Linked DNA regions of Homo sapiens: region 1 is linked to region 2. The links are contacts of gene promoters, found by promoter capture Hi-C in human tissues and cell types (Jung and others, 2019). All regions are on one chromosome and are shown on one strand. Each heading gives the region's core, a stretch centred on a gene start or on the middle of the fragment in contact. The rest is flanking DNA. Distances are from core to core; before and after follow the strand shown. Region 1 has its middle 160 kb from the start of JPH1. Region 2 holds the start of JPH1 (junctophilin 1).

Region 1 (6,794 bases), core at 1,581-4,080, 160 kb after region 2:
TAGCAGCGTGAGGGAAGGAGCTCCCTGTGCTGTTTCTTGGCAGGCTTGCAGTCTGTCACTCCTGAGCCTGTCCCCTGAATCCTCCCAGCTTCGGCACCAGTCAGCATCTTCACTCCTGCCTGGGTGCCACTCAAGTGGCGCTTACCGGTGTTCTTTTGTCTGAAGTGAGGACATTTAAGACAGCAAGAGATCAATCCCTGACAACCATGTTGAGAAAAGCAAACAAAATTCCAAATAACGAAACAGTTACAAAATTCCAGGAAAAGCCCAATTTAAAAAGAAGCTAATTCACATTTGTGTAGAGCAGGTGCTCTATATATTTAATCAGCCCCTTGGAGAAGCAGATATATGCTCCTCTTCCTATGGATAAGGAAAAGGAAGGCTTAGAAAGGTGACATAACTTGCCCAGTGTTCCTCTGCTAGTTAACAGTGAAAGCAGTGCTTCATTAAGAGCCAACATTTGGATAGTGCTCTACTGTTTATCACACGCTTCTGCTCCCTGACCCTTACAATGAACCACAAAGATAGACTGGATAGGTATTAATCATCAACCCCATTCCACAGAATGGAGAACTGCGTTTCAAAGAAAAGAAAGTAAATTCTCTAAGTTTGCACGGAGGGAAAGAAGCAGCACCAAGGTTCAAACCCATGATTTCTGACTTAGCGGAGCCAGTGCAGCCTGCTATCCATCACATCTTGCTTCTTAGGCAAGAGGGGCAGAGTGATTGGTATTTCTTAGGCAAGGAAGTAAACTGCCCAAGACAGGATGGCCTGGAGAGGATATCAGAGTAGTAAAACAGTGCATGACATTTCTATATCAAGATAATCCCTAGATACCTCTATGGCTCATCCTAGAAGAAAGGAGGGTGATGGGTGTACATAATTGACAACACCTGGCATTGGGTTTAGAGAAACCCCTTCCTTGCAAACTAAGACTCAGGAAAGCAGGGTGAGCATATGTCCCATTTCTCTGGGACAGTTGTGATCTAGGGTATTGTCTGGTATAATGAGGCAAAGTGCCCTCTTTCACTTCCAAAAGCATCCCGACTTGCACAATAATCATGTACTCACCTTCCATACAGGAATTTGTATTTCACAATTTGCTAAAGCAAAATGCTTCTCCTACCTTCTTTTACCCTCCAAAACATAACTGCAACACCAATTTTGATCAAACAGGTGTGTTACAACATACCAATGTCAGGAATCCACAAAAGCAGAGGCCAGACTGAGCCAACTCATGGGAAATTCGCACTTTCTCAAGATTTTCAAGTTAGTGAACAAAACAGTAAATCATGTTTTCTTCCGCAGGTGCATTGTAATTATGGCTCCCTAGAACTTTCCCAAAGCAAGTGTCATTACTAAGAGACTGCAAGAAAATATCTTACTGCTGGAGTTCTTTGTTGCTATAATAATGAGACTAGATCTGGAGCAAAAGATGCAACTTCACTTTTTCAAAATCACACATACTCAAGGTATAATCCAAGATGGCACCTTAAATTTTTACATGCTAAAATAAACAAAAAAACCACTAAGTGTCATTGTCCCTAGCATTACCACTACAAGAAGAATTCGCTAACCAAAGGTGTTGAATTACTTTCAGACATGGTAGCTTGTCCTTGGATGTTTTAAAATCAGCTCATGAGCTTATAGTTTCCTAAGCAGCCTTTCTGTCTTCTAATTGCCTTTAAAAGGACAAACGGTAAAAGCTGGAAGTCTTTCCAAGCCCCTGGGCTTCACCCCAGGACAACACACCACATACTTTCCTGCATCAGCATATCAGGTTGCCTGTGAGCAAGAGAGCCCTGCCTGCCATGAGTTCTTTAAGGATCCATTACTGTGTTTTCCAGGCACCTATGGGACTTCTCCCTCCAATTTCTCACTTACTGGCTTCAAAGACGACTCTCAATGTCATCGAGATTAAACCAGCTCTTAGGGAGGCAACATAATGCCGTAATTAAGAGCAGAGCATCAGAGCACAAGACTGGCATCCAAATCCCAATTCTGCCACTTACAAGCCATGTGACTTCGGTCAAGGTACTTACCTCCTCATCTGTAAAATGGGGATGACGGTGCATAACTCATAGAGTTTGTGTGGGGACTCGAGGATATAAAGTAGGAAAACCACACAATGCAATGCCTGGCACATAGTGTGTGCTCAAAAAATATTTTTTATCTCTTCTTAGAAATTGAACATGGCTTAAAATTTTAGTTTACTTGAAATCATCAGGGTAAGGGAGAGGGTGTTTTTCATAGAAAAAACATAGAATTTGGAACCAGAAAACCTAAATTCAAGTTCTGTTTTTCCCACCTACTGGCTTTCATGGCTTTGGATTAATTTCTTTGAACCTCAGTTCTCTTCCCCTATCCGGTAAAAAGATGATAAATATATTCCAGGTTGTTGAGAAGGCCCAATAAAATAACACAAGGAAAAGTGTTTTGTAAACTGAGCGAATGTTAATTATTAATCAAAATGGGACTAAGAACACATCACCTGCACAAATGAAAGGGCTAACAGGTAACTAAAATGCCCAGTTTCTTTTCTGGAGCACCACTTACTCAGGTCTCAGGACCAGGCTGGATGGCTATGGCGGGCCCCTCGCGTGTCCTGGGCCACCCTCGCTCCACTGCTCCGTCTTCCCACTCTGTTTCCTATTCTGGCAGCTTCCGTGCTGTGAACAAGGAGACTGCACCATGGGAGGTCTCTTCTGGCAACATGCAATATTCTGCTAACTCCCCTAAAAGGAAAACAGCGAGGAGAAGGGAAGGCTGGTGTATCATGCGTTTCTGTGCCCATAAACTCAAGTAAAAGGCAATATATTAAACTATAGGTAATCATCCTCCAAGAAAGCTTTGGCCATGTAAAGGAATAAGGCTAGAATGGGGCTCCTGTAGCTCACTGAGGAGTTGCTAGCCACGTGTTGTCATGTATATTTTGGGAGAGTGAAGACATTATTCAAGAGAAAAATGTGGAGGAGGAGGACAATTGTGACTATCCTTACGTGGAGCCTAAAAGCAGGGCCTAGGTAAGATGTCACATCTACGGTAATAAGCAAGCTATGACACATAAAAAGAAAAGTCATGCCAATGAAATGTTTAAAGCCAAATGCTTTTACATTTGTATTTAGAATTTACAAAGTCTTCTCGTGTTACTTATAGAAGCCTCAAGTAAAAGTATTTTCCTTCTTCTAAGCAACATCAGGTGCTTGTAGAGACTCACTCTTACATTTTTATATAAAAAAATACCAGGACATTTCTTAAACAGGAATCCAAAGCACAGAGAGATTAAGGCTGTGACAGGACCGTTAATGTGGCACTCACCAGAAGCATTCTAAGTTCTTCTCTGTGTCAAAGACAAATGAATACATAAATCTCTGTTTATTTCATAAAGAACTGTGTCAATTTCAGTTTACCTGCATTCTCCAGATAACTGGTATCATGGGATATGTTGATTCTCACCACTACCTCCTCTGAATCACCTTAAGAATAGCTAAAATATCCACCAATAACCTTACCAAGGGTTTTGGAAAATAAACATTATAAAAGTTTAGTAATAACAATTAGAAAAGCCACAGGAATTCTCAAATTTTCACAGGAAGTCCCAAATTCCCCAGGTTTCCCATTCATGTCTGTCCTCTACCTCATGCACAAGGCAGAAGAATTAATGCATCTTCTTGGGGCATCTTCTTCAGGATCTTGCTCTGTCACCCAGACTGGAATGCAGTAGTGTGTATCATGGCTCACTGCAGCCTCAACCTCCCAGGCTCAAGTGATCCTCCCACCTCAGTCTCCTACTAGCCAGGACTATAGACACACACCATCATGCTTGCATAATATATTTTACGTAAAGACAGGGTCCCCCTTTATTGGCCAGGCTGATCTCAAACTCCTGGCTTCAAGTGATCCTCCTGCCTCCACCTTCCAAAGTGCTGGGATTACAGGCATGAGCCACTGCATCCAGCTTATTTTTTAATGTCTCGTCTTCCACTGTATAATTGGTTGTCTTATTTTAAAATCTTCTACTTGTACCTCTACAGTTTCCAATAATTGGAAAGGAAGAACAAATGTAATATTTTCTTGTAGCAAAGCAATAGTTTTGGACCATTGCACCTTCTTCCTGTCTATTGCCATAACTTTCCATGGAATGCTCAGAGGGTCCCTGCAGGATCTCCTTAGGGCCTCTACTCCTCCCCTACTTACCAGCCCACACTGGACATCAAAAAGCCTCTCTGCCCTGTTAGCCTCCCAATGTGTGTTTCTGTCTTGTGTATTTCTGTGTTGGTAAAAGGAAAACTTTAGACAAAGTTTAATTGAGCAAAAAACAATTTGTAAATAGAGCAACACCCAGAACCAGAATAGGGCCAGAGCGACCTGGGGGCTATCTCGTGGTTGGATCACATTTATGGTCAGAAAAAGGAAAATGACATACAGAAAACAGAAGTAAGGTGCAGAAACAGCCAGACTGGCTACAGCTTGGAGTTTACCTTATTTGAACACGGCTTGAACAGTCTACTGCCTGTGATTGGTCTAAACTTGTCTGCTGTGATTAGCTCTTGTTACAAGAGTAGGTTGCTTGCACTTCTGTTTGCACATTGGGTTACAGTTCACTATGTATGGAGAAACCTCTTCAAACTTAAAATATGTAAGGAAGTGGCTTTAGGCTAAACTTAATTTAGCAGTGTTATAGTCTCATTATGATGGTAATCAGATTCCTACTGTTCTACTGCAGTTACCATATACAATACAAAACAACCTGGAGTTAGTGAAGGTTGCCATGTGTTCCCACTCCTCATCTCCTTATGTTTCTAGAGAGAAGAATATCAACTAGACTAACACAGCTGGTCACTTGTCCCACTCCTCAGTCCCCTTCCCATCCCCTGAAGAAGTGAATTGTCTGACGGACGAGCTCGGAAAAATGATCTGGGCATGCTCCTCTCAGCCCCTGGTTGGTTTCTCTGACAGCCAGCCTGGCTGCAGAGAGGTATGTTCCGGGCACTTTCCTAGGAGATGAGGGGTGTGTCCATGCAAGGAAGCCAGCTATCGCCCTCCTGTTCCACGTCTGGTGAAAATGCCTGTCTAAAGCAAGGGTGGCTCTTAGCATTAACCTTTCTCTTGCTTCCATCCTTCAGTTTTGAACTTAGGCAGGAAAAACAGAGGAGTTTATAATAAATTATAATCCCTTAAAACTCTAATACCAGAAATTTTATTTGCCCCTTCATACCATTATTTTCTCCATCTAAGCCAATGGGGCAGAACTTCTCTCAAATAGAAATTGCCATTTGTGTCACGTGGCTGTCTTGTCTCACATCGCACCCTTTATGATTCCTGCCTCTTCCCATTAAATGGAAGGAAATGAGCTGAAGAGTCCTCATTTGAATGTTCAATTTGGGAATTAGTAAATCTGTACAAAGATAAAGTTAATCCTACTGACTCTCATTGAGCACACAATTGGTGTTGTTTTTCCATTAATGGGATTGGAGTCATACTGAACCGTCCTACCCTCTCACTTTGGCTCCTAATGGTAAGCAGAGAGCCAGCCTTAACAGTGCAATGTAAGCAGTGGGAAAGAATGACACTAACACACGTGGAGTGGGGTGGGTGCACCCACCATCTTGCTGTCTTGAGCTCAGTGCCATAACAGTATGAGCAAATCATTTCAGGCAAAATAGTGAGTAAAAGGGATTGCTATCAACCAGGACGTAGAAATGATGAAGTACGTGAGCTCCGGAGCTGGCTGCTTTTGTTCAAATCCCGGCTCTCCACTTTGTGATTGCTAGGCTTCAGTCTTATTATTTTACCACTCTAACTCAATTTCTCATCTGTGAAATGAAGATAATAACAGTATCTAATTCACAGGTTTGATATAGAGCATAGAATTAAATCAATTAATACTTGTAAAGCATTAGAAAGTGCCAAGTGTCTACTAAACATTCAGTAGGATGTTGGCTGTCATTATTTGTGTTTGAATGTAATGGTACATACAAATATAGCAACAGGTAAGATTTCATGTAGTCATCGATGATAACAAAGAGCAAAATATTTGGTGTCTCCTAACAGCCTAATGTGGCTCTGTCCATAACAGAGCACTTTTTGAGATTAGCTATGCATTCAGCCTGCTTTTTTTTTTTTTTCATATACTTTAAGTTCTAGGATACATGTGCAGAACATGCAAGTTTGTTGCATAGGTAGACATGTGCCATGGTGGTTTGCTGCACCCAACAACCCATCATCTACATTAAGTATTTCTCCTAACCCTATCCCTCCCGCAGCCCCCCACCACCTGACAGAACCCAGTGTGTGAGTTCCCCTCCCAGCGTCCATGTGTTCTCATTGTTGAACTCCCACTTATGAATAAGAACATGCAGTGTGTGGTTTTTTGTTCCTGTGTTAGTTTGCTGAGAATGATGGTTTCCAGCTTCATCCATGTCACTGCAAAGGACATGAACTCATCCTTTTTTATGGCTGCATAGTATTCTATGGTGTATATGTGCCACATTTTCTTTATCCAGTCTATCATTGATGGACATTTGGGCTGGTTCCAAGCCATTGCTATTGTGAATAGTGCTGCAATAAACATACATGTGCATGTGTCTTTATAGTAGAATGATTTATAATCCTTTGGGTATATACTCAGTAATGGGATTGCTGGGTCAAATGGTATTTCTGGTTCTAAATCCTTGAAGAATCACCACACTGTCTTCCACAATGGTTGAACTAATTTACACTCCCACCAACAGTGTAAAAGCATTCCTATTTCTCCACATCCTCTCCAGCATCTGTTGCTTCCTGACTTTTTA
Region 2 (6,420 bases), core at 2,849-5,348:
TCAAAGTCAAGTCCAGGCTATGTCCGAGGCCCGAGTGAATAGTGGAAGTCTCAGAAGGGGATGTTACTGAACAACGGCTGTCAGAGGAAGAAGAAAAATGGGCATTATTTACTTATCAACCTACTTATTTTTAATTTTTGACCTCTCCTACTGAATTGCCTACTGATCATCTCTGGGGTATACTTCTGGATCATTGTCTCCTAAATAAATATATCTTCTGCAGCCCCCATAATTTACTCTCCTTCCTCCTTTAAAAAAAAAAAAATCTAGACAGCAACATTATCATTCACCCAGGCAGCTAATCTAAAAAAATAAGAAATAAAAGTCATCTTTACTGCACCTTGTTGTTCTCCGCCGAGCATTTGAAAGCTCTCAATGTGTTCTCATCCTCTCTCCAATCAAGGACAGGAATAAAGAACCTCCTCTAAAGTCACACAGACCTGGGTTTGAATCCCACCTCAACCATTTCTACCTTGAATAATTCTGTACCTATGAATGTGCTAAACCTTATTTTCTCCTTCTGTGAAATGGTTGTACGACTAGTACAAATCATCTACAACTATGAGATTTAAATGAATTCATACCTGTAAAAAAAGCTTAGTATGGTATCTGTCATACAGTAGTTGCCATAAAAGACTTGAAGACCATTAATTTTGGAATTCTCTTCCTCTTCTGATTTCACACTGCCTGCAAAGTTTCTGACCATATTTCTTAATTTTTATATTTATCACGGACAAATTTCTTGAGTTTGTAAATTCTTTATTGCAAATATTCAAATTTTGATTATTTGATTGTATAAATCAAGATGGTAACACTTTTTGACTTATATATCAAGTGATTTTAATTGTATGTGTTTTTCTACACACTTTGAATCATGGTTTTTAGACAATAAACACCTACAGATTAGCTTTTTGTCATTTGTAAATTTTTTATTAAAAACTCTCAATAATCAGTCGGGGTTTTTTTGTTTTTTTGTTTTTTCTTTTAGAGATGGGGTCTTCCTATTTTGCCCAGGCTAGTCTCAAACTCTTGGGCTTAAATGATCCTCCCGCCTCAGCCTCCCAAAGTGCTGGGATTACAGGCATGAGCCACCTTGTCCAGCCAATAATTAATCTACTATGTAAATAAAATGAAGTCACCAATAAATTTTTAAATACACCTTCATTTTTTGAAAGACATCATTAAATTCCAGCAAAACATCCTTACTAATATGTTGTTAACTGGTCATAGTCACACTCAAAATAGCTTACAATATGTTATAAAATTTTTTAGAATGGAAATATATAATAACTAGGTTTTTAACATGGAGGAAAACAAACTATAGGGTAGTTGCTGGCCCCTGGATTTTCATGGCCTCCCCCGTTCCACCTGTCAAACCAACATTCACATTCTCTTCTTACTAATCCCTTCTTAAAGCTAAATTCAACTCCCCCTTATCCAGGGCAAAGGTTCAGAGGGAGAGGGAAAATAAGGACATTACTAACCCTGACTATTAAACTGCAACATTATTCCACTGTCTACTATCTGCTATGCCATCACTCTCAGCATCTCTTCCTCTTCCTAGTATTCTCTCCCCGTCTTCTCCAACCGTTACCATTGACCCTGAACACTTACACTAACACATATGTCTTCGTGACTGGGTAAACATTCCATTGTGATGGCAGCTGGTAAATGGAAGCATGGTTTATATGGTTATTTGCCAAAAATTGTTTAGTAATTTACCAAAAATACCAACTTTCTTTCATAAAGAAAGTCAACATCAGAGCTAGGCTAGGATTAAGATTAGTTAAAATTTAATCATACATACCTAGTGGTAAAGTCTCACTTTTAATTAAGGTTCTTTGCAAGGCATCTATTAGGGATAGCCACAGGAAAAGAGTAAGCAATAAATGGCCATGTCTTTTTTCCTCCCCAAATCTTCATATTCAATCCAGATGTGTGTGCACCTCCCACCACAAATAGACTAGATATCCATTACAGAAGCCAGAAACTTGGTTTGTGCTCTGTGTTCCAGAAAATCCCTCATTTGCATGACAACTAATTAGGAAGAGTAATAAATAAAGAGATAAAGGTTTCCAAAATTTATCCCCTTAAAGAACATATATGGGTCCTAACACACTGGGTGGATCCAAAAAAAAAAAAAAGGCAAAGGGACAAAGACTACTCTATGAGGAAGTCTAGTTTAGAAAGAGACTCCCCCATTCAAAATATTGGCTTGAGCAACCACACTTTTTCTCATATCATACAGAACCTCAAAATATATGGGAATGCATCTTTCTACATTAGCTCCTGATTCTGGTGTATCCCATAACAGGGAAATGGAATTATGGCTCAGCCGCAAAGCCCTGGCCCTCATCTTCCCAGCGGCCTAAATCAATCCCCAGTCCAGGACAAGATGCTTCGAGAGATGCATAATTATTTCAGGCCACTAGGGTAAGCACTATTCCTGGCAACTCTGCGGGCAGTGCCATGGATGAGGGCTTCTAATTCTCTTTGGTGATTTGGTTCTGCATAAACTGAGATTTTTCTTTCAGTCTTTCAGCCAGATAAGTAGGAAAGGTCGGCTCTCGTCCTGAGAGAGAGGCAATCAAGGTCAATTTCAGTTCCTTTTCTGTGCAGTTTAGTCTACTTTTTCCCAGGCTGTCTTCCTGACACCTGTCCTTATATCTATATCTGATTATCAAATACTTAGTGAGAGAACCTTTGGCAGCTTCTGATGCTCGCATAGTCACCCAAAGGCCTCTCAGCCTAAGAAATAGCAGGAATACACTCCAAATCAGTTTCCTTGAGAGGCCAAACTAAGACCCTAGGCTGTGAAAGTGGGAGAAGTTTCTCCCGTGGGTATTTTGAGGGTGAGGTGGAGAATAATGCTTTCTCTCACCAGAGGCAATGCTGATCCAACTTGCCTATTACCAAATCTCTAATTTTTGGTTTGGCACTGCAGCCACAATATACTCAGTTATTACCGAATATAGAAAGAGAAAGGCAAATCTTGTTAGTCCCATTCAGAAGATGGTGAAATGGAGGTTTAAAAGTTTAGAAGAGTTGCCTAAAGTGAATTCGACAAAGCAGTGTTGTAGCTAGAAAGTAGACCAGCTGACATCTGTCCCTGGTTTTGTAGGTCACAGTTTCTTTGCAAGTTTAGAGCAGTGCTTTACTTACCATATTCCTCCTTGCAAACCTCTATTTACTTTCTTAAACAGTGGATACCAGTGGAGAGGTGTGCATTCCAGACACTTATACAATGTACACAGACCGAGCCGTCTACCTGTTGGGCACACAGCTCCAGGCTCAAGAATCTCTAAGGCTGTTAAGAAGCACAAACGAGGCACGAGAGGGGGCAGGCTCTAATGTAAAAGGAATATCCTGTACCACTGCAAAGGCCGATTGAAAACATCCTCTTCATCACTATTAATAAAAAACTAACCAATATATTCTGTGCTTTTTCAAACTGTACTGCTCACCCTCAGTGTCTTCATTAAATAAATGCAAACACGTGTGCTTTGAAACGGGTAGGTGTAAAAGAACACTCTGCACAATTATATCTAGGCTGCCGCAGATTTACATCACATGCATACATATATCTAGGCGATATTAATTCACGATGACAGCTGAGCATGACAAATGCAACAGTACACAAGTTGGAATGCGAAAACAATGCAACTACAAACCCCATGCAGACAAACACGCATACAATGAGTTTTCCCTCAACACACACGTGGCCGCACTCACAGGAGCTTAACCACTTTGAAAAACCCCAAACACAAACACCGGGGGCTCCGGCGCCCGCGAGCGGCCCCCACACAGGCAGCCGCGCCTTCATCTCCAGGCAGGGATTCTCGTGCGTCCCCGGGTACACTCGCCCTCCCACCGGCATCCCACTGCGCGAACACATGCGCGCCAGCCGGTCCCCGCGCGCGCCCGCCTGCCGAGGAAGCGGCGGCTCCCGGGGCTGGGGGCAGGGCCCGGTGGGGCGGGAGCGCCGCGGGGCCGGGCCTCGGCGCCCGGGGAGGGGACGAGGGGCGGGCGCGGGGCGGTGCCCGGCTCACGTGGGCGGGCGGGAGCAGCTGAAGGTCCGCTCGGGAACCTGGGCTGTCCTCTCGCGCGCGGCGCTGGCCCAGGCGGCGGCGGCGAAGGAGGAGGAGGAGGAGGAGGAAGGCGGCGGTGGCGGCGGCAAAAGAGGAGGGAGGACGGGGGCGGCGTCGGACTGGAGCCGAGCGGCAGCGCGAGCTGCCCAGGGCGCTGTCGTGAGCTCGCCCGCCGGGCCCCCACCCCCGAGCTACACCCTGCCGTGCCCAGCACTGCCCGCGTCCGTGCCCCTGCGGGGAGCGCGCCGGGGCTGCCCCCCGAATGACGGGCGGAAGGTTCGACTTCGACGATGGCGGCACCTACTGCGGCGGCTGGGAGGAGGGCAAGGCGCACGGGCATGGCATCTGCACGGGGCCCAAGGGCCAGGGCGAGTACTCGGGCTCCTGGTCGCACGGCTTCGAGGTGGTCGGAGGCTACACCTGGCCCAGCGGCAACACCTACCAGGGCTACTGGGCGCAGGGCAAGCGGCACGGGCTGGGGGTGGAGACGAAGGGCAAGTGGATGTACCGGGGGGAGTGGTCACATGGTTTCAAGGGGCGCTACGGGGTCCGGCAGAGCCTGTGCACCCCCGCTCGCTACGAGGGTACCTGGAGTAACGGGCTGCAAGACGGGTACGGCGTGGAGACCTACGGGGACGGAGGTGAGCGGCGTAACGGGCGGCTCGGCTGCTCCGCGAGCTGGTGCGGTGGGCTCTGCCCCGGCTGCGGGGAAGCGGGGAGGACGCCGGGCGCACGTGTCCGGAAACCCGCCAAAACACCTGGGGGCGCCTCCCACCCCCGCGCCCGCGCCCGCCTTTCCCAGAGAGGGCGCTGGGACCGGACTGGGGCGCGAGGGCTGGATCTGACCCCGTTCTTGGAGCGGGCCGTGTATCCACACTCAGGGGAGCTAGGCGTGAATGTACCTGGCCGGCGCCAGCGCTGCGCTGCCACCGGGAGGGAGCGCCGCCCGGGAGGGTTGGGCTGGAGAGAGGACGCTGTCACTTGAGCCCGTCACATTACGTTCCTGATCCCTCCCTCTCCCGGCCGGGTTTGAAATCGCCACTCCCGTGGAGTTAGAGCGAACACCCTGAGCGGGTGAGGTTGGCGGTCCGTGCTGACCGCTCCCGGGATTGGTTTCACGTGGAGTCGTATTTCGCTTCTGGTCCTCCAGTAGCCTAAAGATAGAAGCCAGAACCCCGTAACTAGGATGTTGGGGAATTGTACCTTATTTGGGGGTGCATTTGGAAACGTCCTAGTTATGGGAGCAGAAAGGCCACCTGATGCAGGTGGAGTTCAGAGTGTGTGAGTTCCTAGTTTTCATTCCGTTTCTTAAAGTATTGGTCTTAAAAGAGTAGCAGTCTTTGCTGACCTGGAGATCTTGGACAAATTACTAGGAAGATATTTTAGAAATGGGTAATGAAGTCTACATTTTAAAGAATACAATTAGCAGGTGTGTTCCTATAGCTGCTAAGTTAGCAGCTACTACTCCTGAGAATGGCAATACTGAAACAATAATTTGCATTATGTGTGACCTAAGCCAGTATTCCTGGCTGTGAACAAAGATCACCTTATTTTAATATTTAACAATATTTGCCAAAGAGATTGTGTATATACCAGGACAGAAGTTCCTCTTTTATTAGGAAAAGTATACATTATTGAAACAGGTGTCAAAACCTGATGAATTTCCTTGTGTAATACGCTGAGAAAGATATTCATGAATAGCTTATGCTTTAGCAAAGTGCATTTCCTGATAAACATAATCATATTTAGTTGAAAAGGGTTGTAGGAGGCGACATCACTTTTTGGAATTAAGCAGCTCAGAGTTGGAGGATATTAAAGGGATGCAATTAAAAGTTTCTCCAGCCCACTGCAACCCCATTTATACCATTGCTTATATAAAAGCTTACACAATTTGTACACTTCACTTAGTCAGAACACTTGGGCCGTGTTTCAAATGCAAAATGGCAGAATGGTAGAACTTGCTAAAAAGGACATCTTTTCATCCTACAGTATAAATTAAGCATATGGTTCTCATGGATTAAAAGAAAAAAACGTTCTCTAATAGTTTTATGTGGGGCTGAGTCCCGAGTTTCACAGTAGTTAATTGGGACCCTTAAATGTTCTGAATGGGCATAAAGTACCTGGTTGACAGCGCTGTAAATATGTCAGTTTGTGACTGGATTTTGTTGGAGGCCCCAGCTCTACTATATAACTAAATTCCATGCTCAAAAGTAGAAGGCAAAATTTATTGTTTTAAATGTGTGCATTATTTTATAATCTTTTAAGAAGGCCAGGGATGGTTCTCTTCAGTTTTGGAAGGTTAAAAATCGTCTCCTTTTAAAGATACTATTCA

The links. Contacts are between HindIII fragments. The study calls those that stand out against the background at their distance.
Region 1: a contact is called between a fragment that was not itself captured here and the fragment with the promoter of JPH1 in region 2, in 1 of the 25 tissues and cell types used here (dorsolateral prefrontal cortex).

Annotation. Positions count from the first base shown.
Region 1 is chr8:74,161,966-74,168,759 of GRCh38, reverse strand. No RefSeq gene overlaps it. Among named protein-coding and RNA genes, the nearest start is that of JPH1, 160 kb to the left of the region's middle. The HindIII fragment of the contact is 5,655 bases long and covers 3-5,657 here.
Region 2 is chr8:74,319,218-74,325,637 of GRCh38, reverse strand. JPH1 (junctophilin 1) reads left to right here and starts at 4,098. Exons shown (of 6, transcript NM_020647.4): 1 at 4,098-4,729. The coding sequence starts at 4,351. RefSeq lists a silencer at 3,948-4,047 and an enhancer at 4,141-5,031. The HindIII fragment of the contact is 7,240 bases long and covers 1-6,420 here.